Regions from separate parts of the Homo sapiens genome. Here regions 1, 2, 3, 4, 5 and 7 are each linked to region 6. Evidence: promoter capture Hi-C in 16 types of primary human blood cells and fetal thymus (Javierre and others, 2016). All regions are on one chromosome and are shown on one strand. The core of a region is centred on a gene start or on the middle of the fragment in contact, and the rest is flanking DNA. Distances in the headings are between cores, read along the strand shown.

Region 1 (2,996 bases), core at 480-2,979, 690 kb before region 6:
CCTGTCTTGAACTCCTATTAGATGTATGTTTGACTTTTTCATTCCTTTTCTCCACAGCTCTCCATTTTCTCCCTACAGTCCATCTCTTTTTCTGTTTTCCTTCAGAGTCATTGCTTTAGAACTGCTGTTCATTCACTAGTTTTCTCTTCAGATTTTTATGATATATTTAACTGGCCAATTGATTTTTTAAAATTTCTAGACTTTTTTTTTAATTTGCTCATATTCCCCCAGTGTCCTGTTTTCTCTTATGATTTCTATTTTTACACTCATTTAATCATTTTAAACATAATTATTTTATATTTTCATAAAATATTTTTAGTGCTTTATTATTTTAGTTTCTTTGGGTGCCAGTTCTCTTGTTTTAGCTACTGAGCCTCTGTCATGTTTATAATTTTCTATCCTATGCTTATTTTCAGCAGAGATTGTGTGTGTGTGAAAGAGTCCCATATTGTCCAAATAGTGGAAAAATAAATATTGCTACAGACTAATTTTTATTAGCTTTTGCCTTACTCCCCTGTTACAGTCAGTTTTACATTTATATTTTTTATATTTATAATGTGTTAAGTTTTGATATTTAAAATTTGTTTGGGTATTCTCAGCATATATAGGCAATGTAAGTATAGTGTCCACTTGTAGGCATAGGATAGATCTAGAACTGATTTCTCACATGACATGACTTTTTTCCATCTGACTTTCTGTCACTTCCTCAGACTTCTAGGAAGGGTTTGGTGGTCTGCTTCATTTAGGAAGAAGTCGGCATCCTGATTTTTCCGCAAATATTTCAGTCCCAGAACTTGTCTTAGATGGTTCTATGGCTACATCTTCTTCCTATATTGTTGGCATTTATATCTAATCTGATATTTCCTCTCCTCCGATTAGGCACATGAGTTCACCACTCGGACTTTTAACTTTTCTCTTCATTTCTGGCACCTGAGTATTACCTTTCCTTCCTTTGAGCTCAGCTGTGGATTTAAAAAAAAAAAAAAAAAAATGCCGGGAGCGGTGGCTCACGCCTGTAATCCCAACACTTCGGGAGGCCAAGGCGGGCAGATCACTTGAGGTTAGGAGTTCTGACCAGCCTGGCCAACATGGTGAAACCCTGTCCCTACTAACAATACAAAAATTGCCGAGCGTTGTGGCAGGCGCCTGTAATCCTAGCTACTCCGAAGGCTGAGGCAGGAGAATCGCTTGAACCCGGGAAGCAGAGGTTGCAGTGAGCTGAGATCGCACCACTGTACTCCAGCCTGGGCGATAGAATGAGACTCCATCTCAAAAAAAAAAAAAAAAAAAAAAACTTTTATCATATAAAGATTGAATTATATGAATTGCTCTTCAACCATTTTTGACCTAGAAAACGCAAGCAATTTCATAGGATTTAAACTAAACATTTTATTCCCATTTTTATGGGTTTGTAATATTAGAAGATTGTGTCTTAGCTTCGTCCTCTTTGTTGCTTCAACTTTCTTACATTCTTGGATGCTAGGAGCACAGAATCCCTCCCTTCTTTTTCTGAGCTGTTCTGGGGCTGAGTGATTCCTAATTCTAACCTGACATGGTAGTACTAGGAGAAGGCTCAAGACTTAGACTCCTCTCATGTACCAGATAATGGGCTGTAGTTTTATATGTAATATCAATTTTTAATTTAATATTACAAATAAATCTTCCTCCTTTTTTAAAAAAAGAAAGAACAGTGCAGTCAATGTTAACATTTTCTAACAGCCACTTCAGTTATGTTCCCTTTCTCCATCCCCAGAGAAAATAACCTTTATGAGTTTGATATGAATCATTCTAATACATTTTTTAAGGTTTTGAATATATATGTGATTATCTAGACCAAAAACACAATGTTTGGAGGTTTCCGTCTTATATTTCTATAAGTGGCATTATGTGGAATTTATCATGTTACTTGGTTTTTCATTCAAAACTATACATTTGAGATTTATTTGTTGATATAAATCTAGTTAATTCAGTTTTATTTGCTATGCTATTTATCCCTTAAATGTACTACCTTTTTTACCTATTCCTTTATTGATGGACATTCAGGTTGTTTTAAAAATAAATAAGCATAGCCAGGATATTTTGAAAAATGAGGGTTATTGAACATATTAGATTTTATAGCATATAATAAAGCCTCACTAAGTAAAATAATACAGTATTAGTATGTTAAAAGATATACCATTGAAAGATATAGAGTTCAGAAATAACCCAAATATATGAGTGTTTAGCATATGATAAAAGTAGCATCTCAAATCTGTGAGCTATAGATAGACTTTTTAATAAATTGGTGTTGATCAATCTGGGTAGTCATTTGAAAAAGGTAATATTGCTTCATCCATACATCAATATAAATTCCAACTAGTCAACAATTCCCCACAGACAAGACAACAAAACTATTGTTGAACTTTGGAGTTTTACTAGCCTGATAGGTAAAATATGATCTGTGATTTTTATTTCTCTTATTATAAGCAAAGCTGTGTATCCTTTCATGTGAATAAGGATCTGTTAGTATCCTTTAATGATTATTTTTCTATTAGTTTTTTTGCCTTTTTTTCTCCCATTATTTATTTGGGAAATGAGCCCTTCGTCTTTGGTATGAGTTGTAATTATGTTCCCAGTTTGTCAGTTTTTTAAATCTACATATGTATTTTTTGCTATTCAGACTTTTTAACATTTTTGTGTAGCTGACTAATCAGTTTTTTAAAATTGCTTCTGGATTTTGTGTCAAAGTCAAAGACCATGCCTACTCCATGTACTACTGGTGTGAAAGCAAAATGATATAGTCCTTGTAGAGAAGAATCTGGCAATACCTACTACATTACAGATGTATTTACTCTTTGGCTCTCTGGTCCCATTTCTGGTATCTATCCTAAGGACATACTATACAAGAAGGAAATGGTATCCCTAAACGGTTATTCACTGTACCATCATTTAATATTAACAAATTATTGGAAAGATACTCTAATCTCCAGCACTGAGGGTTAACTAAAGTAAGTGTG
Region 2 (3,009 bases), core at 23-2,522, 980 kb after region 6:
AATACTTTTCCCAACAGTATTCATTTTCTATGGCTGTTGTAACAAATTACAACTGGCTTATAAGGACAGAGATTTAGTCTCTCACAGTTCTGGAAAGTTAAGGTATTCCCAGGGCCACACTCCCTCTGGGGCTCTTGTCCTTTTCCTCTTCCAGTTTCTGGTGGCTGTTAACAGTCCTTGACACGTGGCAGCCTCACTCCAATTTCTACCTCCATAGTTACGTTGCTTTCTCTTTTGTCTGTTAAGTCTCTCCTGTGTGTCTCCTATGAGGACACCTGTCAATGAATTTAGGTCCCACCTGGATAGTCCAGGATGATCTCATCTTGAGATCTTCAATTTAATTGCATCTGGGAAGATCCTCTTTCCAGAGTAACATTCCTTCATGGGTTCTGGGGATTAGGACATGGATACACCTTTTTGGGGCCCACCATTCAGCCTTCTAGACCAACATTCAAATTATTAAAGTCCATTCATTTCTCTGATATTTCAAAATACTAATGATCGTTTCTTTGAGGTTAGACAGTTTCACGGTACAGGGCTTTTCCTAACATTTTTAGAGTAAAAGTACTTTTTCTATTTTGATACAAATGTAATTTCTATTCAAGTTACAAAAAAAACTCAGTTGGATACATCACTTCAGGCACTTATAATTTCATTGATTATAAGAGTTATCTTAGATTTGGAGGAAAACTGAAAAATAAATGTTTGATGGACAAATTCAGAGACATTATTCCAACACACTTATTTATATTGATGTTTTTAAGTCCCAGAATGCATACATAACCTGTTAATCTCTCGGTAATTCAGTTGACACTGATGTTGGCTGGGAACTAGGCTGGAGTATCAAGAAGAGTCTCGACATGTGACCTCTCCATATGGCCTGGTCTAGATATCCTGGTAGCTCAAGGTAGTTGGACTTCTTCCAGGGTGGCTCCTGGGATCCAAAATGAATGTGTCATGTAGCAAAGTGGAAATAGTATCACCTTTTGTGACGTAGCCTAAGAACTGATAGCATCAATTCCACTACAGTTTTTGGGAGGAAACAGTCAAAAATCCATCCACATTCAAGGGGAGAAGACATATACCTCACTCTCAATGGGAGAAGTGTCAAAGAATTTGGGGCCATATTTCTCTCTCTCTCTCTCTCTCTATATATATATATATATGTGTGTGTGTGTGTGTGTGTGTGTGTGTGTGTATATATATATATATATATATATATATAAAAATAAGTTCTGGGATACATGTGCAGAACATGCAGGTTTGTTACATAGGTATACACGTGCCATGGCATGGTGGTTTGCTGCACCCATCAACCGGTCATCTACATTAGCTATTTCTCCTAAAGCTACCCCTCCCCTTGCTACCCCTACCCCTCCCCTTGCCCCCTACCCCATGACAGGCCCTGGCATGTGATGTTCCCCTCCCTGTGTCCATGTGTTTTCATTGTTCAACTCCCATTCGTTAGTGAGAACATGTGGTGTTTGGTTTTCTGTTCTTGTATTAGTTTGCTGAGAATGATGATTGCCAGCTTCATCCATGTCCTGGCAAAGGACATGAACTCATCCTTTTTTATGGCTCCATAGTATTCCAAGGTGTATAAGTGCCACATTTTCTTTATCCAGTCTATCACTGATGGGTATTTGGGTTGGTTCCAAGTCTCTGCTATTGTGAACAGTGCTGCAATAAACCTCTTCATGTGTCTCCATAGTAGAATGATTTATAATCCTTTGGGTATATACCCCAGTAATGGGATTGCTGGGTCAAATGGTATTTCTGGTTCTAGATCCTTGAGGAATTGCCACACTGTCTTCTACAATGGTTGAACTAATTTACACTCCCACCAACAGTGTAAAAGCATTCCTATTTCTCCACATCCTCACCAGCATCTGTTGTTTCCTGACTTTTTAATGATCACCATTCTAACTGGCATGAGATGGTATCTCATTATGGTTTTTATTTGCATTTATCTAATGACCAGTGATGAGGAGCATTTTTTCATATGTCTGTTGGCTGCATAAATGTCTTCTTTTGAGAAGTGTCTGTTCATATCCTTTGCCCACTTTTTGATGGGGTTGTTTGTTTTTCTCTTCAACATATTTTAAAACTACCGCACCAGGTTTTGTGCCAATTGGAGTATCCTATGACTCTACCTCAATAATTTCTGCCTGAGACATCATTGACTTTGAAACAGTATAGTGTTACCTACATGGCAGCTCTCCCTACATTTCTGTATTGTGCTAATCTTGTAGTTCTCAACCTTGTCTATTCTTTATAGTCATCTGGGGGAGATTTAAAAAAATACCAGCAGCTGAACCCCACACCTAGAGATTTCTAATTTACTTGATCTGGAATTGGCCCTTGGGTATCAAGTATTTTTTAAGTGCTTAGTGTGTTGTTCCTTAGCATCTTGCTAGTTGTACTCTTCTTTCATTGATTCTTTTGGATGCTTCTGACTCAGTGATTTCAGAAATGGATCCTCACGTCCCATCAATGAGGACAGGAAGAGCCGGACAGGTGTGCTGCCCTCCAGAGTAGGCACAGAGGTTTAAAGGGGCTGCATCTCGCTGGTTTGTGGCAATGTCACTGGTTTTTGGAAGGAGTTGAGGCTGTAAATGAGGAATCTGATGAGCAGGGTGGAGCTGTAACAGAAGAGTGAGTAACAAAGGCTGTGCTCAGAAGGATGTATATACAGATTATGTCTGACATTCCTCTCTGCAAAAATCTCCACCACTTCTCAAACCTGTGAATAGTCTTTTACCCTTTTGGGGTTTCACATCCCAAGATTAATCACACTTTACAGAAAAAAAGAGATTTATCACATTTTACAGAAAGAATATACCGTAGTAAAAGTACAATTCATGTCAGTCAGCTCTAGGGCAAGATAGTGTGAGTTGTTCGGTTAAAGTATCAGCCTCCTCACATACTTTCCTTTTCTCCCACTACTGCAAGTGCAGTCATCTTGGTGTGACATCTGTTCTCAAAAGAGCAGCCACAGAAAGGAATTGG
Region 3 (3,054 bases), core at 237-2,736, 760 kb before region 6:
CTACATGGAATCTACGAGAGAGAGACTATGTATTTGATTAATATTTGTAAATTGATTGCTACACATCCTTTATATCAGTAAAAGCTATAATCAACTTAATATATGCTCAAATTTCTTTATAATAAACAAGTAAAATTTACAATAAACTTATAATACACCTTCAGAAAATCAGTCCTTAAACTTTTCTCTGCACACAACTGACACAGCCATTGTTACTTACTCGATATCTTGGATCTAGTGCTTGCACCTAACTCTATTCTTTATGTCAAGATGAGCATACAGGTAATCTATCACACAGAACCACATAAATGTTGATGTTTATTCATTTTGATCTTCAGAAATGTCAATATTGTGTGGTTCAGCTTAGTAAATTACTAAGTTTTTAATTTCTATTTTTAAAAAAGCTCTGTAATCTAAAATACTTGAAAGAATATAAAAATTATATTATTCCAAATTTTAAAAGTCAAAATAACATGCAACATAAAACATAAATTAATATACTCTAAACCAAAAATAAAATAATTTTAAGATTCATAAAATTGTCATACTCCTCAAAATTAAAGCACAGACATAATTATCCTTAAATTGATGCCAACTAAATGAATTATACAAGGATAAAAATTTACACATCTCTTTAATGAATGCATATAGCTGAATTTTCCAAATAAACAAATATTTTCACTTTTTCAGGAAAATGTAAAACATATTAAGGAAAATAAAAAACCAAAGAAGTATTACCTATAATTCTACCATCTTATCACAACAGCTATTTTAATTTTGGTATAGTAATTTTCAGGCTATCCATATGCATATAGATTTTTCTGTGGTTCACAATCATAGCTACATTTATAATTTTGCTTTGTTTTTTAACTAGTCAATGTATGTTATATATGTGCCCATTAAACAGTCCAAATGTGAAGAAACGTAACTTACACTGGTGGGCAAGAATTCTGGTTTGTCCATGACTCAGAAGTCCACCTTTGCTTTAATTAAAAAAAAAACTTTTTGAATCAGTATAAATATGAATATACCCTTTATACTTTAAGAGATACACAATAAGTCAATGCAATAAAGCTAATTATAATTTTTCTCAGTAAATTCTATATAATAAATACTTATTAAGCCCCTTCCTACTGTGCTTGAGACACAGATAAAAAGGCAAGTAAGACAGATAATCCCTAACCACATAGCACTCTGCTGGAGAAGACTTTCTCTCAAATAAACAATAATGGGAAAAAAAAGTCTATAACAGAGCAACTACATAGCAGTATGCCCAACCTACTCTAGGGAATTTAGGAAGCTTGTTTTTTTTTGTTTGTTTTTTTGTTTGTTTGTTTTGTTTTTTTCTTAAGGCAACCTTTAACAGGAGTTCTGAAAGATGAGGAGGAGTTAGCTAGATGAAAAGAGAAGAAAGAAAATTGGTTCAGCTAGGAAACAACTTGTACTGCACAGGCCTCCAGATAAGAGTTAGCATTTGGAAAGGGGTAAAATCCAGAGTGTGAGGGGGGGTAGGGCCAAGCTGTTACATTATAGTACAAGTTAGGGAACTTAGACCTTGTTTTTAAGGTAATGGGAAGACAGTGAAGGGTTTGACAAAGAAAGTAACAAACATGTATGTGTTTGTAAACATTCAATCTTATTGCCAAAAAAACTGCAAGTCATAAAAATTACAGCAAGCTTAGCCACCATGAAATAGAAGATATATATGAGTCTTAGGAAAACTTCAAGTTAATGAAAATAGAAAATAATTCACCCATCAGCACTTATACCCTATTTCTGAAATGTTATCTGACTTGTGCTTTTTTTGTGATATTAGTAGCAACCGTAAAAATTCCATTCTACTATTTTTCTTTTTTTATATTTTCCTTAAACAAATATTCTTAAATAACAATAATAATACAATAAGTTTAATTTTAAAAAATAAAACTAATTCAAGCAGTGGCAATTTTTCAAGTAATCATTATCTTCAATTTTGGTGGTTCCATTCTTCAAATCTAGGAAATGTTGATCCTAAATATCTGTGAATATAAGTAGTCATAAAACATGAAGAAAAGGTAAAAAAATTATTTATAAGTCATCCTGAAAGAAGAAAATTATATAGAGCTCACATACTTGTAGAGGCTTCTTTCTTCCAAAGAATGGCTGAATTTGGCTCCTAGAAGTGGCAGCAACTCCTTTAACCTCTAAATCCATTTGAGTTCCTGTGTTTATCATGCAGTATACTTTGAAAAAGGTAGAGTAAATGTTAAATGGTAATTCTTACTCTAATTTTAAATAAGTCATACAAATTACCTAACAAGTCTACCTGGAAAGAAATCATAAGGTTAATCACTTCTAGTGCTTTTACCAATATCAACTTTTTATAGGGCAATTACATTATGACCTGTGTTAGTATGAATAATGGGCCCCCAAAGAAGGCCATCTCTTAATCCTCAGACCCTGTAAATATACCACCTTACATGGCAAAAAGGACTTCAGATGTGTTTGAATTAAGAATTTTAAGATGGGGAGATTATCCTGGATTCTTTGGTGGGCTCAGTGTAACCACCAGAATCCTTGTAAGAGGGAAGCAAGAAGAACAGAGTGAGACAGAGAAGATGTAAGGATGGAAGCATAGGTCAGAGAGAGGTGAAGATGCTAGGCATTCTGGTTCTGAAGATGGAGGAAGAGGTCATGAGCAGCCTCCTGAAGGCAGAAGAGGCAAGGAATGGATTTTCCTATGGCGCTTCCAGAAAGAACCTGCCCTGTTGACAGCTCGATTTTAGCCCCTTAAGACTAATGTTGTACTTCTGACCTCCAGAACTATAAAATAATAAATTTATGTTGTTTTAAACCACTAAGTTTAAATAAATTTTTAGAGCAACAATAGAAAACTAATGCATCTCCCTCTTCTCTAATACCACCATGACATATACATTTATTTCCTTTACTCATTTCCCAAACCTTTATGAGTTTTGGTTTTGCCAGAGTAGGCTGATGAAAATATTTTTAACAAGCAGTATTCTTCATCTAGAACAAAGAATAAAATGGAGTAAATGGTCCAATTAGTAATAA
Region 4 (3,105 bases), core at 306-2,805, 790 kb after region 6:
TCAACAGTATTTCATAAGCCAGGTACTGGGTTAGGGGGCTGAGGATAAATGGGTCATAAGGAAAGGCCCGTTTTGCACAGAGTTCTACTGAGGTGGTAAAAACATGTGGACAAACAATAGCAATATAATAAATGACACAGAGGCATGCAAAAAGGGCTTTTGAAGGTCTGCACCATTTACTTTCACAGGCATGACAAAACAGTTTCATCTTGCAGATCCACTGAGAGTGGATTCCTGGAACTACGTTGAGAAAGATTCTGAAATTCAGTCCAGGTTCTACAATCAAGAGAACTGTGATTAATTATTTTTGCCATGGAAATACCGCAGTACACATGCCACCTTTTAGACATGCCAGATATAAAAGAAACAGTGCGGAGCTTAGAATCAGATAGACACAAGCTGGTTGTCAAAGCTAGTTATCAGCTATGTGATCCTGGCCAAATTTCCTTAACCTCTGAGCCTTAACTTCCTCAGAGGTAACTTGGAAATGGATGAGAACTATCTTATAGGCGGTTGTAAAGATTTAATGAGATAAAGTTTGTAAAGTACCTGGCAAAGAGCCTGTACTCCACAAATGGGCGGGCTTCCTTTTCCTTTAGGAGCACTCGGGGCCTGAATATACCAAGTTCAGTCCGTTAGGTCAAGGGTTCCAACCCCCAGGCCACAGACCGATGGCTGTGTTTTGTGTTCAGGCTACTTGCTACTGGTCTGTGGCCTGCTAGGAACCAGGCTGCACAGCAGGAGGTGAGTGGAGGGTAAGCGAGCATTACCACCTGAGCTCTGCTTCCTGTCAGATCGGCAGAGGCATTAGATTCTCATAGGAGCGGGAACGCTATTGTGAATTGTGTAGGTGAGGGATCTAGGTGCCCACTCGTTACGAGAATCTAATGCCTGGTGATCTGAGATGGAACAGTTTCATCCCAAAATTTCATGCCAAAACCATCCACCCACCATCCATGAAAAAACTGTCTTCCACAAAACTGGTCCCTGGTGCCAAAAAGGATGGGGACTGATGAGTTGGGTGACTTGCTGAGGTCACAGATCTCCAAAGAAACAAATCAGGCTCATGTTTTGATTCCAGAACCACAAGCTTTCCTCAAAACTCCCATATCTGACAGGCACAGAACATTAAGGGTTGAGACTATTCAAATGACCTGAGAATTCTCAATCCTTGAGTTACCAAATTACACACACAAATTACACACCTTCCTCTCCATCCAACTAGCGGTCAGTAAGTGGTCTCTGTGCACCACTCTCACACCCAAACTGCTACTTTCAACCAAAAAGCTTTTTATTACCCCTCTCTGCTAACCTAAATCTAACCCCACTGAAGGAAAACTCTCTTCTAATCTAGTGAACACTCCTGTGTGTACCTCAGCCTCACCATTCTTACTACTTCTGTATTCTGCTACCACTCGTGTCTTCAACTTAGAGTGCAGCAAAATTCGACACAGATTTGAATCACTATCTGCCAAATCCCATATTGTAATTAAAATGCAACTATGCTATAAGCTCAGTAACCCTGATCCCCAACATCTGCCATAGCAATCCACAATCTGTGCAAAACTACAAGTTATTTAATTATTCAAACAATTTAATATTTGCACGATTTTTTCATGGAATCAGACCTAGATATATATGCTGAGACTCTTGTTTATTTGCCAAATGATCACAGGTTGTTCATTTGATCTGCTAGTTTTCTCATTTTAAAAATGGGGACAATGCTTATTTATACAATAAGGCAGTTTTTAGATTAAACAATATATGCAAAACACCTAGAATAGTGTCTGCCACATGACAGGTAATAATTACAAATACTTCTATAAAGCTTAATATATGCTTTACTTATGTTTATATTACCTCATTTAATCCTCATAACAACTAAAGTAAGCACTACCACTATTCTCATTTTATGAGTGGGGAAACTGAGGCATAGAGCTATTAAATGACTCATAACTGTGAAACCAAAATAAAATTATCAATTCAACTTAAAAATGAATACCAATAAAATTCCAATTCAAAATTATTTCACTGATGTTTTGCTAAACTAAACCCCTGGTAGCAATACAGATGTAGTACCGACCTCCATGGCTATGGCATAGGTTCTTCTTAAGCTGAGTAGTTCCTGCACTGCCGTGTGCTGGATGAGGATTCAATTCTCTCTGCTTATTTTCTTTTGGAAGTACTGTGAAACCACCATGAAGCCCTCTTTCCTATAGTGAACTGGGAAGTAATTTGGCCCTAATGTATTACATGGTGTCTGTTCTTATTAGTCGAAGACAATAGTATTGTTGGCACAATAAGATTGTAAACAAAAAAACAAGGAACCTGATATCCTTTCCAGATCATTCACCATGTACTTCTATTAGTTCTTCCTCTGTGACTTACAACAATAAAATTTTTAACAATCAGAAATTGTGCCTGTGGTAAAAAGGAATTTGAAAAGGAAAAAATATAAAAAAAAGAAATTGTGCCCAGCTTCTCCACTATCCAGACTGAGAAATATTCCCTTAATTCAGGATTCTTAACCCAAAGGCCACAATTCCTTTTAATTCTGGGGGTTGGGGAACTTGGTACCACATACTTTATGTTACGTCATTTTGAGAAGGGGTCTGGAGGCCTCACAGGAGTGCCATGATATAAAAAGTCAGAAACCCCACCTAGGTAATCAAAGATCCAGAGGTGTCTGGGGATCCCCACCCAACAGAACCCAAGGGATGGCATGCTGGCAGTCAGGGTAAGGTGCCTTGAGGAAACCTGTGAACATCTGCACAGAGAAGAAAGCTGGCCTCCAGGCAAGGTCTAGGAAACGCTCTTCAGGTGTGAGCCAGCTCTCTCCTGAAACAGACTTTCACTGATAGCCTTTTCCCACATATATTCAACCAAGTGCACAACTTTGTCTAATTACAAGGAACTACTCCCAGGCTGGGCTGGGCTTTGTACAAGTATCAACAGGCCTTATGACAACCCTGCAAGGCATGTGCCACTACACCCATTTTACATGATGAAGTATTGAGGCCAAAGAGTAAAGTTAATTTGCCCAAGGGCATCAAACCAATGGGTACTGGAGTTGAGGTGTGAATTTGGTCCTGCCTGGCTTCGTTC
Region 5 (3,013 bases), core at 293-2,792, 710 kb after region 6:
CCAGAAACTCGTCAAATGTTGTTTCAGGAGGTTTTATAGAACTTAATATTCAGCACCTCATTCTCCTTTCTGGAGGTCAGTAAGAAGAGTTGAAAATTCCAGCTCTCTAATCACTTGGTCATTCTAGTCACCAGCCCCCTCCTGAGTTTATGCTATATAGGCTCCACTCCAGGTCACTTCATTGGCATAAACTCTGGTGTAGTCAAAAGGGACCTTTAATGAATGACAAAAAACAGTCCTATCACTCAGAAATTTTAAGCATTTTAGGAGCCTTGTGCCGTGAACCTGGGACAAAGACGGATTACACTTATACCACAATAGGTCTAGCATTTTAAAAAGTTAACTAGTTTGCACATAGACACTTGGCGAATAGTTGATTGGTTATATAATCCCATCAAGGTATGCAAATAAACATGTATTATGGCATCTCTCATTGGCATATAAACTAGTATTTGCCCTATACCTGCTGTATAAGATTGAGTCTTGTCATGTTGATTTCTCTTTGCTGCAGTGTTTATCGCAGCTCAGCTTATCCCAGCTCTTCCCATTCCTGTCTACTATTCCTGTCTACTATCTGCTACCTATAGTAGCAGATTTTGGAGGTAATTTCTCTCCTTCCAGTTCTCTTCAAAGCCAGGACTATTAAAACAAACAAAAAAACCTTCTGACTGTCAACTAGATAATGTTAAGAATCTTCCAAGTGACTATAATTTTAAAAAAATATATGAAATCATTTTATGTTCCCCTTAGAACTTGGAGAATGTCTAATCTAGAAGTTTCAGAACTTTTTTTTTAGAAAGCAGCTAAACCTTTAATTGAAGAAATCTTGTATAAAGCTGCATGTCCTGGGGTTCCTACATAAGCAAACCCAAACCCAATTCAATGAAAACAGTGACATCAAACTTAAGTCTAACTAGAGACATTATCAGTTAGAAATCACCAACTGACCTCTAACTTGGGACCTTTTACTGGATCATGATCAAATAAGGCAAATGCCTAGCTAGCTATGGCTGATCAAGTAATTGCTTTGCTTCCAAGTTCAGCCTGTTGAAACCCTCTGCTCATGCTCTGAAGCTGAGCTTGCTGAACCTCTTTTGGTTATTAGTGTTGTCAGATTCGTGAGTTGTCCTTTGCTCAGATAAACTCTGCTAAATTTAATTTGCTTAAAGTTTTTAATACCCAGTATCTAAAAACAAATAATGAAGTGCTTTGTTTAAGACGGGAATGAGGCTGAGTGCAGTGGCTCCTGCCTGTAATCCCAGCACTTTGGGAGGCCGAAGTGGTAGATCACTTCAGGCCAGGAGTTTGAGACCAACCTGGCCAACATGGTGAAACCCTGTCTCTACTAAAAATAGAAAAATTAGGCAGGTGTGGTGGTGTGTGCCTGTAGTCCCAGCTACTCAGGAAGCTGAGGCAGGAGAATGGTTTGTACCTGGGAGGCGGAGGTTGCAGTGAGCTGAGATCATGCCACTGCACTCCAGCCTGGGTGACAGAGTGAGGCTCTGCCTCAAAAGAAGGGAATGAGTGTGTGGAGTTTGAAATCTCTGAGCTCTTCCACTTTTACCTTGAGGCACCTCAGAGGAACTTTTTGCTTATTTTATCCAAATCCCGTTTTACGAAGGAGAGATCTGTACCCTATAGTAGTTAATTGACTTGTTAGGTGTACCCTAGGTAGGGGAGTGGCGGACTTTTATTCATTAGCCTCTCAGTCGTGGATTTTTTTCTATTATACCAAGCTGCTTCTAATGGAATTACTGCGTTCTTAAAAGTTACAATGACACACATACATATTTTTAAATTAGTATTGCTTTTCTTGGTAGAAATAGCAATTAAATTGCTTCTTGGTTTCCATTAACATCGAGGAAAAATTACAGGATTTTATTTTATTTTTTTGAGACAGAGTCTCACTCTGTTGCCCAGGCTGGAGCACAGTGGCGCGATCGTGGCTCACTGCAAGCTCCACCTCCTGGGTTCATGCCTTTCTCCTGCCTCAGCCTCCCGAGTAGCTGGGACTACAGGCGCCTGCCACCATGCTGGGCTAAATTTTGTATTTTTTAGTAGAGACGGGGTTTCACTGTGTTAGCCAGGATGGTCTCAACCTCCTGACCTTGTGATCCACCTGCCTCTGCCTCCCAAAGTGCTGAGATTACAGGCGTGAGCCACTGCACCCGGCCAAATTACAGGATTTTAAAGAGTTTAATGAACTAAATATTTGTATGTTGAAAATATATTTAATATATAATAGCAAATTTTTAGCTTAAAAATTATTATCTATGTTAGATATGCTTATTTATATGAACATGTTAAAAATATGTTTTATAATTAGAACTGTTACTCCTAGGCCTATTGATAGTTGTGATTATCTTGATAGAGTGTTGTCATTTGTCACATTGACAAGGTACTAGTCCTAGAGATAAACCAGTATCCAGTCTGTTTAAAAGTGAGAAATAAAGTTCTTTATTACAAAATTTGTTAGGTAATAAAGCAGGTTGGAGATTTTCATATATACCTTTTCTTTAGTGAGTATAACTCTGCCACTGTAGAATTATTTGAGATATGTTTAGTTAAAGGCATATTTTAAAAAATAGATACCTTTTACTAAGGAAATAAAAACAACCTTATCGGAGGCACAAAACAGATACTTACATAGGTTAATTTTAATATGTTACTGGAAAAAAAAAGTCTAATTTCCAGTAACATTTTTAAGCTCGCATTTGGCAATGTCAGTGAAACAAACTGAGAATACAATTTAATCATTATGTACAGTAAATGAGGTCTCTGGGCATGAAAATAAAATTAAAGTTTCTTGAAAACTTTATGATAGTAATCCTCAGAAAGAGACTTATTTTTATTCTATGAATATTATTGGTATGTAAAAGCAATGTATTTGTCCATAGTAAAAAAGAATAGCATTTTGCCGTAGCACATTTTCAAAGTTTTTTCAAGTTATGTTATTACCTTTTGGATATTATGTTGCCCTCATCTGTGTTTTTACTTATTATTGGAAGGCTCT
Region 6 (3,066 bases), core at 162-2,661:
ATCTTATTCTAGTGACTTCAATAAAGGAACTAATTTATAAGACAGCCAAGAACAATTAAAGTCATAAAGGGCCAAACATTTTATTTTCATCTAAGAACCGTTTGCAGGGGTGGTCCGATCTTTTGGCTTCCCTGGGCCACACTAGAACTGTCTTGGGCCACACGTAAAATACATTAACTAGCTGATGAGCTTTTTTTTCCAAAAAAAAAAAAAAAAAAAAAACCTCATGAATTTGTGTTGGGCCACATTTAAAGCCGTCCTGGGCCGCGGGTTGGACAAGCTTGGTTTAGGGGTTTAGATCGATCAGGATCAATACTCCCCAAATAAAAAACCCTGATCAAGACACCCATCTAACAGTACCTGGGAAACACAATAACAACCTTTTGCTAATAACAGTTAATATAAGCGCTATATACGCGTTAACTTTTTAAAATACTAGCAGTGGAGGCCCTTCCTTATCATCAGCTAACATCCACAATCTCTGGTACCAATAAAAAGATTAAGACCAAAGAGAAGCAGGGAAGAGTTTGAAACCCAGGGACAGGGCTTACTCGCTTACCCTTCCTTTTCACATTCCACCGTCTCTACAACTTTCAAAGTAAGCACAGACCGAGGGCAAGGGTCTCCAACCAGGCCCAGCCAGTGGCCATGAAGCCCATTACCACGTGTGGAGCGAAGCCGCCGGGGGTTTCCCCTCCCCGCGCGGCCGCCCCCAATGGGCGGAGAGCCCGGGAGCGTCGCAGCCTCCCCCGCCCCCTCCCCGCCTCGGGGACTCGTCCCTCCACAGCCCCTCCCTCCCGTCGGAATTCGCAGCCTCCGCCGTTCTTTTCATCTCCCAGCGGCCTCCCTCCTGGTATTATTTTTGAGGGAAAAGCAGGGGGGTGTCCAAGAGGCGGCCGGCTCTGCACTCGGCCCGGCCCGTACGCCGGGGGCCTCCCGGTCCTCGCGGCGCAGCCGAGTCTCAGGGCACCCGGGCGTCACCGCGGCCTCGCTCCGGTCCACGCGGAAAAGACGGTGGAGCTCAGAGAACCTTAGGCCTCCAGGCCGCGCCAACCCCTACGTCGCCTCAGCCGTCCCCGATAAAAGCGCTGGTCGGCCCCGGGGCCCCTCTCAGGCTCCGGGGTCCGGACTCCGCGGTCCTGTCCGACCTCACAGGACGACCCCGGAGGCCACGGGCGGCCAGCGGCCCCGACTCCCGGCTCCCAGTCCCTCCATCCCTCCGGCCCTCCCATCTGCGCAGGCCGCCCAGCCAACACCACGTTCCCCCTTCCCTTCCAGGCCCCCATCCGTTACCGGCGACTAGTATGGGGAGCCAGGCGGCCGGAGCTGCGCAGGCAGTGACTCAGGGCGGCAGCGGCAGCAGCAGCGGGAGGAGCAGGAGGCGGCGCCGCGAGCAGATGGCGCTAAAAAAGACCCAAGAGCCCGCCGCTCGCGCTCATATACAATTAGCGTCAGCACGTAGGGCCCTTTCGCCGCCCTCCTCCCGGCCTTGTAGTCTCCCAGCAACGCGAGCGAGAGGCGGGTCCAGGCCGGGTTGCCTAGCAACTGAACCGTCCTCCTTCCCCGGCGACCTCCATACCCCCACCGAGGACTCCTGCAGCCCCGAGGCCCAGGCGCCGCGCTTGGGCTCCTCTGGTTCCCGCCGGTGTCTAACCTCCTCTGTTAAGCACCCCACCATATCTTTTCTCCCTGCTGAGCCGGAAAGGAAATTTCAACCCCATCAGTTGTGGGGAAGGCCTGGCCCGCGTGCCCGGCGCCCGGCCCGCCCCGCCCCCTTCGGCGTTGTGCTGGGAACGCTCAGGGCTGGCGCCAGTCGCCTGGTCCCTCGCTCGCCGCAGCCTAGACGGCGGACGCTCCCTGTCAAGGCCTAATTCCTGCAACTCGCCGGCCCCCGGTAACCGTTTTCCTTCCCCGCCTAAGAAAAACAGTTTTTTCCTCTAGACCACTTCGGCGGCCTCTTCTGACAGTTTTGCTTCTCCTATGCCAGCGGGTCTCCGCGCCTTTAGGGGGTGCTCGTCATCCTTTGCCCCCCAACCCCCCGCCACATCCTCGTAACTGATGTACAGTCCGTCAGTTCGGCTTCAGTTCTTTTGACGGATGAAAATGGCATATTTGTGCATTCTCTGGATGCGTTATAATGAGGACACTCAGTACGTCCGTTGTTTCATCTTTCTGAAAAAGTAAATCACATTAAATCCTCAGGCTTGTAAAACCTCATAGCTAATTTTCAAGTGATGATGAATTGACTAATACTAACTCAAAAAGTTGTTCTCAGAGTATGGTCTGAGGGTCCCCAGACCCTTTCATGGGGAAGGTCAAAACTATTTCCATATTAATGTCAAGACTGCCTTTTGCATTCTCATTCTCTCACAAGTGTACAGTGGGGTTTTCCGGAGGCTACGTGACATGTGATAAGGAAACAGACTGAAAATAGAAGCAGATAGGAGAATCCAGTCATCTGCGGTTAAACCAGACGTTAAAGAGATTTGCAAAAACTCGATTTGGGGGCAAGGGGGAGTAGTTATTTTTCATATAAAAATTATTTTTTGTTAATATTTGATTGCTTTATTGTTTTTAAATGAAATACTCTTAAAATTTCTCACTTTTAATTTCTGATATAAATATCAGTATCAGTAATGCACATAAAAGTTCTTTGGGGTCCTCAACTTTTAAAGGAGTGTAAAGGAATCCTAAGACCACAAAGTTTGAGAACCTCTTCTCTAAATCTTGCATTTATTGAAACTTCAAACTGCCTAGAATCCCCTATTGTAATCCACACATTTAGCAACTTTATCTTCCGTTTTAGGGGATACAATGTTTTCCTTGGCCCTCCAGAACCTCATTGAAATTATTTGCCTTCCCACTCTATACTGCAGACGACTCTGTTTATTCATTCATTTTAGTTTTTCATATACAATTCCTTTGTTGTTCTCATAGCCTATTCCTGTACACCCTTCTCAACAATGATGTAATGATACAAGGAGCATAATAGCATCAATAATGGATCTTCAGGAAGAACCCACTATACATAAACAAGGTAGACCAGTGCTCAGTTTGAACATAAAT
Region 7 (2,872 bases), core at 298-2,797, 700 kb before region 6:
TAAATGTATTATGTATATTTTTATAATAAAGTAATATATTACAAAATACATAACAATTGAACCTAAAAAGGATGAGGTAAAATAAATTTAAAAATAAGTGTTAAAGAGATGTTTATGCCAGGAATATAAAAAGAAACACTTCTGACGGTTTTATATTATTTGCTTGCATTTGTATCTTGACAACTATATTGAATCGGCAATTTCCTCTTAGCAATTTTTGCAGGATATGTGATCATTTTGAGATGGTTTGCTTAGTTAAAACTAGGTAATTTGAACTGTAATTAAATTTACCTGTGATCACTAACTGTACCAGGGGAAATAAATAAATTCCATTATCATCACTTCGAGTGGAACTCCCATTTTCTCTCAGGAAAGCAACATATCACTTGCCAATGTCCTCCAGACTAAAACTACCAGCAACTCACCTGTAGTTATATTCACTGGGTTTGCTTCTTGCAGCTAGGGAAACTACATTGATTATTATAAGAATAACTCAATAAATATTTATTAAGCATGCTCTCATGAAAACTAATATAAAAAAACATTTATTAAGCATGCATAATATCTGGCACCATGCTAAGTGTTAATAATTATTTTTAGTTCTTGTGAATTCAATGAGTGAAAATAAGAGTATTTAAATTTAATAATAGTAATACCTAACAGTAGGTATTACTATGCCAAGCACTAAGTGCCTTACATCTAATAACTTATATAATTCCCTCAATAATGAGGTAGATGCTATTAATTTTTATTCCTTGAACTACCAGTAAAGCTAAACATATTTTCATAAACTACATTCAAATTTACCAATATATTGTTTGAGAGTTATTAAGAAAGGCTAGGAATCTTATTTTCACCTTTGATGAAAAGATTACAGGAAGTTGTTTCAAACATATGACCATACTTCATATTGACCTAATGAATACAGAAGTAATGTACATTCAGGAGTCAAATTTTAATATAAATAGTCTCGGATTTATACTCAATTTTATGGCTCAGTCTTTTAGAGACTGATATGGTCTGGCTGTGTCACCACCCAAATCTCAACTTGAATTGTATCTCCCAGAATTCCCACATGTTGTAGGAGGGACCCAGGGGGAGGTAACTGAATCACAGGGGCCAGTCTTTCCTGTGCTATTCTCATGACAGTGAATAAGTCTCATGAGATCTGATGGGTTTATCAAGGGTTTCTGCTTTTGCTTCTTCCTCATTCTCTCTTGTCGCCGCCATGTAAGAAGTGGCTTTAGCCCTCTGCCATGATTGTGAGAACTTCCCTAGCCATGCGGAACCGTACTAAGTCCAATTAAACCTCTTTCTTTTGTAAATTGCCAAATCTCAGGTATGTCTTTATCAGCAGCATGAAAACAAACTAATACAGCGACAAACGATACTTTAGTTCCAGAGGTCCAAATTCCTCCTGGAATCTAGTTATATACACTCCATCATACCTATATGTGAAAAGAGTAGATGCAGGATGAATATTTCAACTACACTGTTATTTAGACTTTTTTTTTTTTTTTTGGTATATTACCTGTTCATTTTCTTCCTCTATTTTTCTAATGGTGCTGCTGTTATTCATTTTCTTAAGTGTTTTTTTTTTTTTTTTTTTGAGACAGAGTCTCGCTCTGTCACCAGGCTGGAGTGCAGTGGCACAATCTCGGCCCGCTGCAACCTCCGCCTCCCAGGTTCAAGCGATTCTCCTGCCTCAGCCTCCCGAGTAGCTGGGACTACAGGCATGTGTCACCATGCCCAGCTAATTTTTGTATTTTTAGTAGAGACAGGGTTTCACCATGTTGGTCAGGATGGTCTCGATCTCCTGACCTCGTGATCTGCCCACCTCGGCTGCCCAAAGTGCTGGGATTACAGGCATGAGCCACCACACCCAGCCTCTTATGAAATTTGAATGGCTCCCTGTGCATCTGGGATTTTAATCCTTGGACATTTATCTAGCAAATTTCTCAGTTGCCCTATTTTACATTTTAACGAAGTAAAGTCTATCTTTCTACCTTTCAAAGTTGGCTTTTATGTGTGGATCATTTTGCTTTTCTCCTTTAATGCTTCTCATGCACAATTATCTGAATCTTAAATTTGAATTATAGAAAAGATCAATCGAGTATGTAAAGAAACAATGAGAAAGAGTCAATAAAATAAAAACAATGTTTCTAATAACATCTATACAGAGAACAAAATAATACATTTTAGTATCTTCAGTCTTATCCCATGATCATTTTCAGTAAATGTAGATTAAAAATACATTTTTAAATTTGCTAGCTTTTATCCAAATCAAAAAGCATATGGAATTAGAGTATTATTTCCTTAAAATTTCAAGTGTAGACCAGGCATGGTGGCTCACGCCTATAATTCCAGCACTTTGGGAGGCCAAGGTGGGTAGATCACCCGAGGTCAGGAGTTCAAGACCAGCCTGGCCAACATGGTGAAACCCCATCTCTACTAAAAATACAAAAATTAGCTGGGTGTGGTGGTGCATGCCTGTAGTCCCAGCTACTCAGGAGGCTGAGTCATGAGAATCACTTGAACCCAAGAAGCGGAGGTTGCTGTAAGCCAAGATCATGCCACTGCACTCCAGCCTGGGCGACAGAGTGAGACTCCATCTCAAAAAAAAAAAGAAGAAGAATTTTAAAAAATAATTTCAAGTGCAGTGTACAAGTGTACAGAAACTGAGAACTTAAGGAAACTCACAAATCATCTGAGATAAGCAAGAGGCTTAAAGTTTATCCCAAAATTGCTCTTGTTTTTAAAATTAAAGCTATATCTGTTATACATGACAACAGAAATATTAAATGGGTATGCAAAAAGTATATAAGTAGCAGAATTTAAATAATTTAATGAAACCTTATTTTCCACATTCCTT

Evidence for each region. The method cuts DNA at HindIII sites, captures the fragments that hold promoters and counts their contacts. A CHiCAGO score of 5 or more calls a contact.
Region 1: a contact is called between a fragment that was not itself captured here and the fragment with the promoter of NAP1L1 in region 6, in 3 of 17 cell types (naive CD8 T cells, naive CD4 T cells and non-activated CD4 T cells). The highest score is 5.7, in naive CD8 T cells.
Region 2: a contact is called between a fragment that was not itself captured here and the fragment with the promoter of NAP1L1 in region 6, in 1 of 17 cell types (fetal thymus). The highest score is 5.5, in fetal thymus.
Region 3: a contact is called between a fragment that was not itself captured here and the fragment with the promoter of NAP1L1 in region 6, in 1 of 17 cell types (total CD8 T cells). The highest score is 6.7, in total CD8 T cells.
Region 4: a fragment that was not itself captured here is called in contact with the fragment with the promoter of NAP1L1 in region 6 in 1 of 17 cell types (total B cells); the score reaches 7.5 in total B cells.
Region 5: a contact is called between a fragment that was not itself captured here and the fragment with the promoter of NAP1L1 in region 6, in 3 of 17 cell types (total B cells, naive B cells and naive CD8 T cells). The highest score is 6.4, in total B cells.
Region 7: a contact is called between a fragment that was not itself captured here and the fragment with the promoter of NAP1L1 in region 6, in 4 of 17 cell types (naive B cells, total B cells, activated CD4 T cells and 1 more). The highest score is 6.9, in naive B cells.

The regions. Positions count from the first base shown.
Region 1 is chr12:75,397,058-75,400,053 of GRCh38, forward strand. The region is part of intron 1 of GLIPR1L2 (GLIPR1 like 2); the gene reads left to right. Among named protein-coding and RNA genes, the nearest start is that of GLIPR1L2, 7.5 kb to the left of the region's middle. The HindIII fragment of the contact is 8,872 bases long and covers 1-2,996 here.
Region 2 is chr12:77,067,593-77,070,601 of GRCh38, forward strand. No RefSeq gene overlaps it. Among named protein-coding and RNA genes, the nearest start is that of E2F7, 3.5 kb to the left of the region's middle. The HindIII fragment of the contact is 5,115 bases long and covers 1-3,009 here.
Region 3 is chr12:75,324,306-75,327,359 of GRCh38, forward strand. It overlaps CAPS2 (calcyphosine 2), which reads right to left. Exons shown (of 17, transcript NM_001355024.4): 2 at 2,113-2,222; 3 at 934-983. The coding sequence starts at 2,193. Among named protein-coding and RNA genes, the nearest start is that of CAPS2, 4.5 kb to the right of the region's middle. The HindIII fragment of the contact is 377 bases long and covers 1,299-1,675 here.
Region 4 is chr12:76,873,954-76,877,058 of GRCh38, forward strand. All of the region lies in intron 1 of CSRP2 (cysteine and glycine rich protein 2), which reads right to left. Among named protein-coding and RNA genes, the nearest start is that of CSRP2, 3.5 kb to the right of the region's middle. RefSeq lists an enhancer at 490-991. The HindIII fragment of the contact is 541 bases long and covers 1,286-1,826 here.
Region 5 is chr12:76,792,011-76,795,023 of GRCh38, forward strand. All of the region lies in intron 1 of ZDHHC17 (zDHHC palmitoyltransferase 17), which reads left to right. Among named protein-coding and RNA genes, the nearest start is that of ZDHHC17, 29 kb to the left of the region's middle. The HindIII fragment of the contact is 6,806 bases long and covers 1-3,013 here.
Region 6 is chr12:76,083,274-76,086,339 of GRCh38, forward strand. It overlaps NAP1L1 (nucleosome assembly protein 1 like 1), which reads right to left and starts at 1,412. Exons shown (of 15, transcript NM_004537.7): 1 at 1,294-1,412. LOC124902970 (a long non-coding RNA gene) reads left to right here and starts at 1,812. Exons shown (of 2, transcript XR_007063379.1): 1 at 1,812-1,894; 2 at 2,938-3,066. RefSeq lists silencers at 727-796, 847-906, 977-1,026, 1,167-1,246, 1,687-1,846 and an enhancer at 1,142-1,683. The HindIII fragment of the contact is 5,148 bases long and covers 279-3,066 here.
Region 7 is chr12:75,380,025-75,382,896 of GRCh38, forward strand. It overlaps a transcript of CAPS2 not described here. Among named protein-coding and RNA genes, the nearest start is that of GLIPR1L2, 9.6 kb to the right of the region's middle. The HindIII fragment of the contact is 5,361 bases long and covers 1-2,872 here.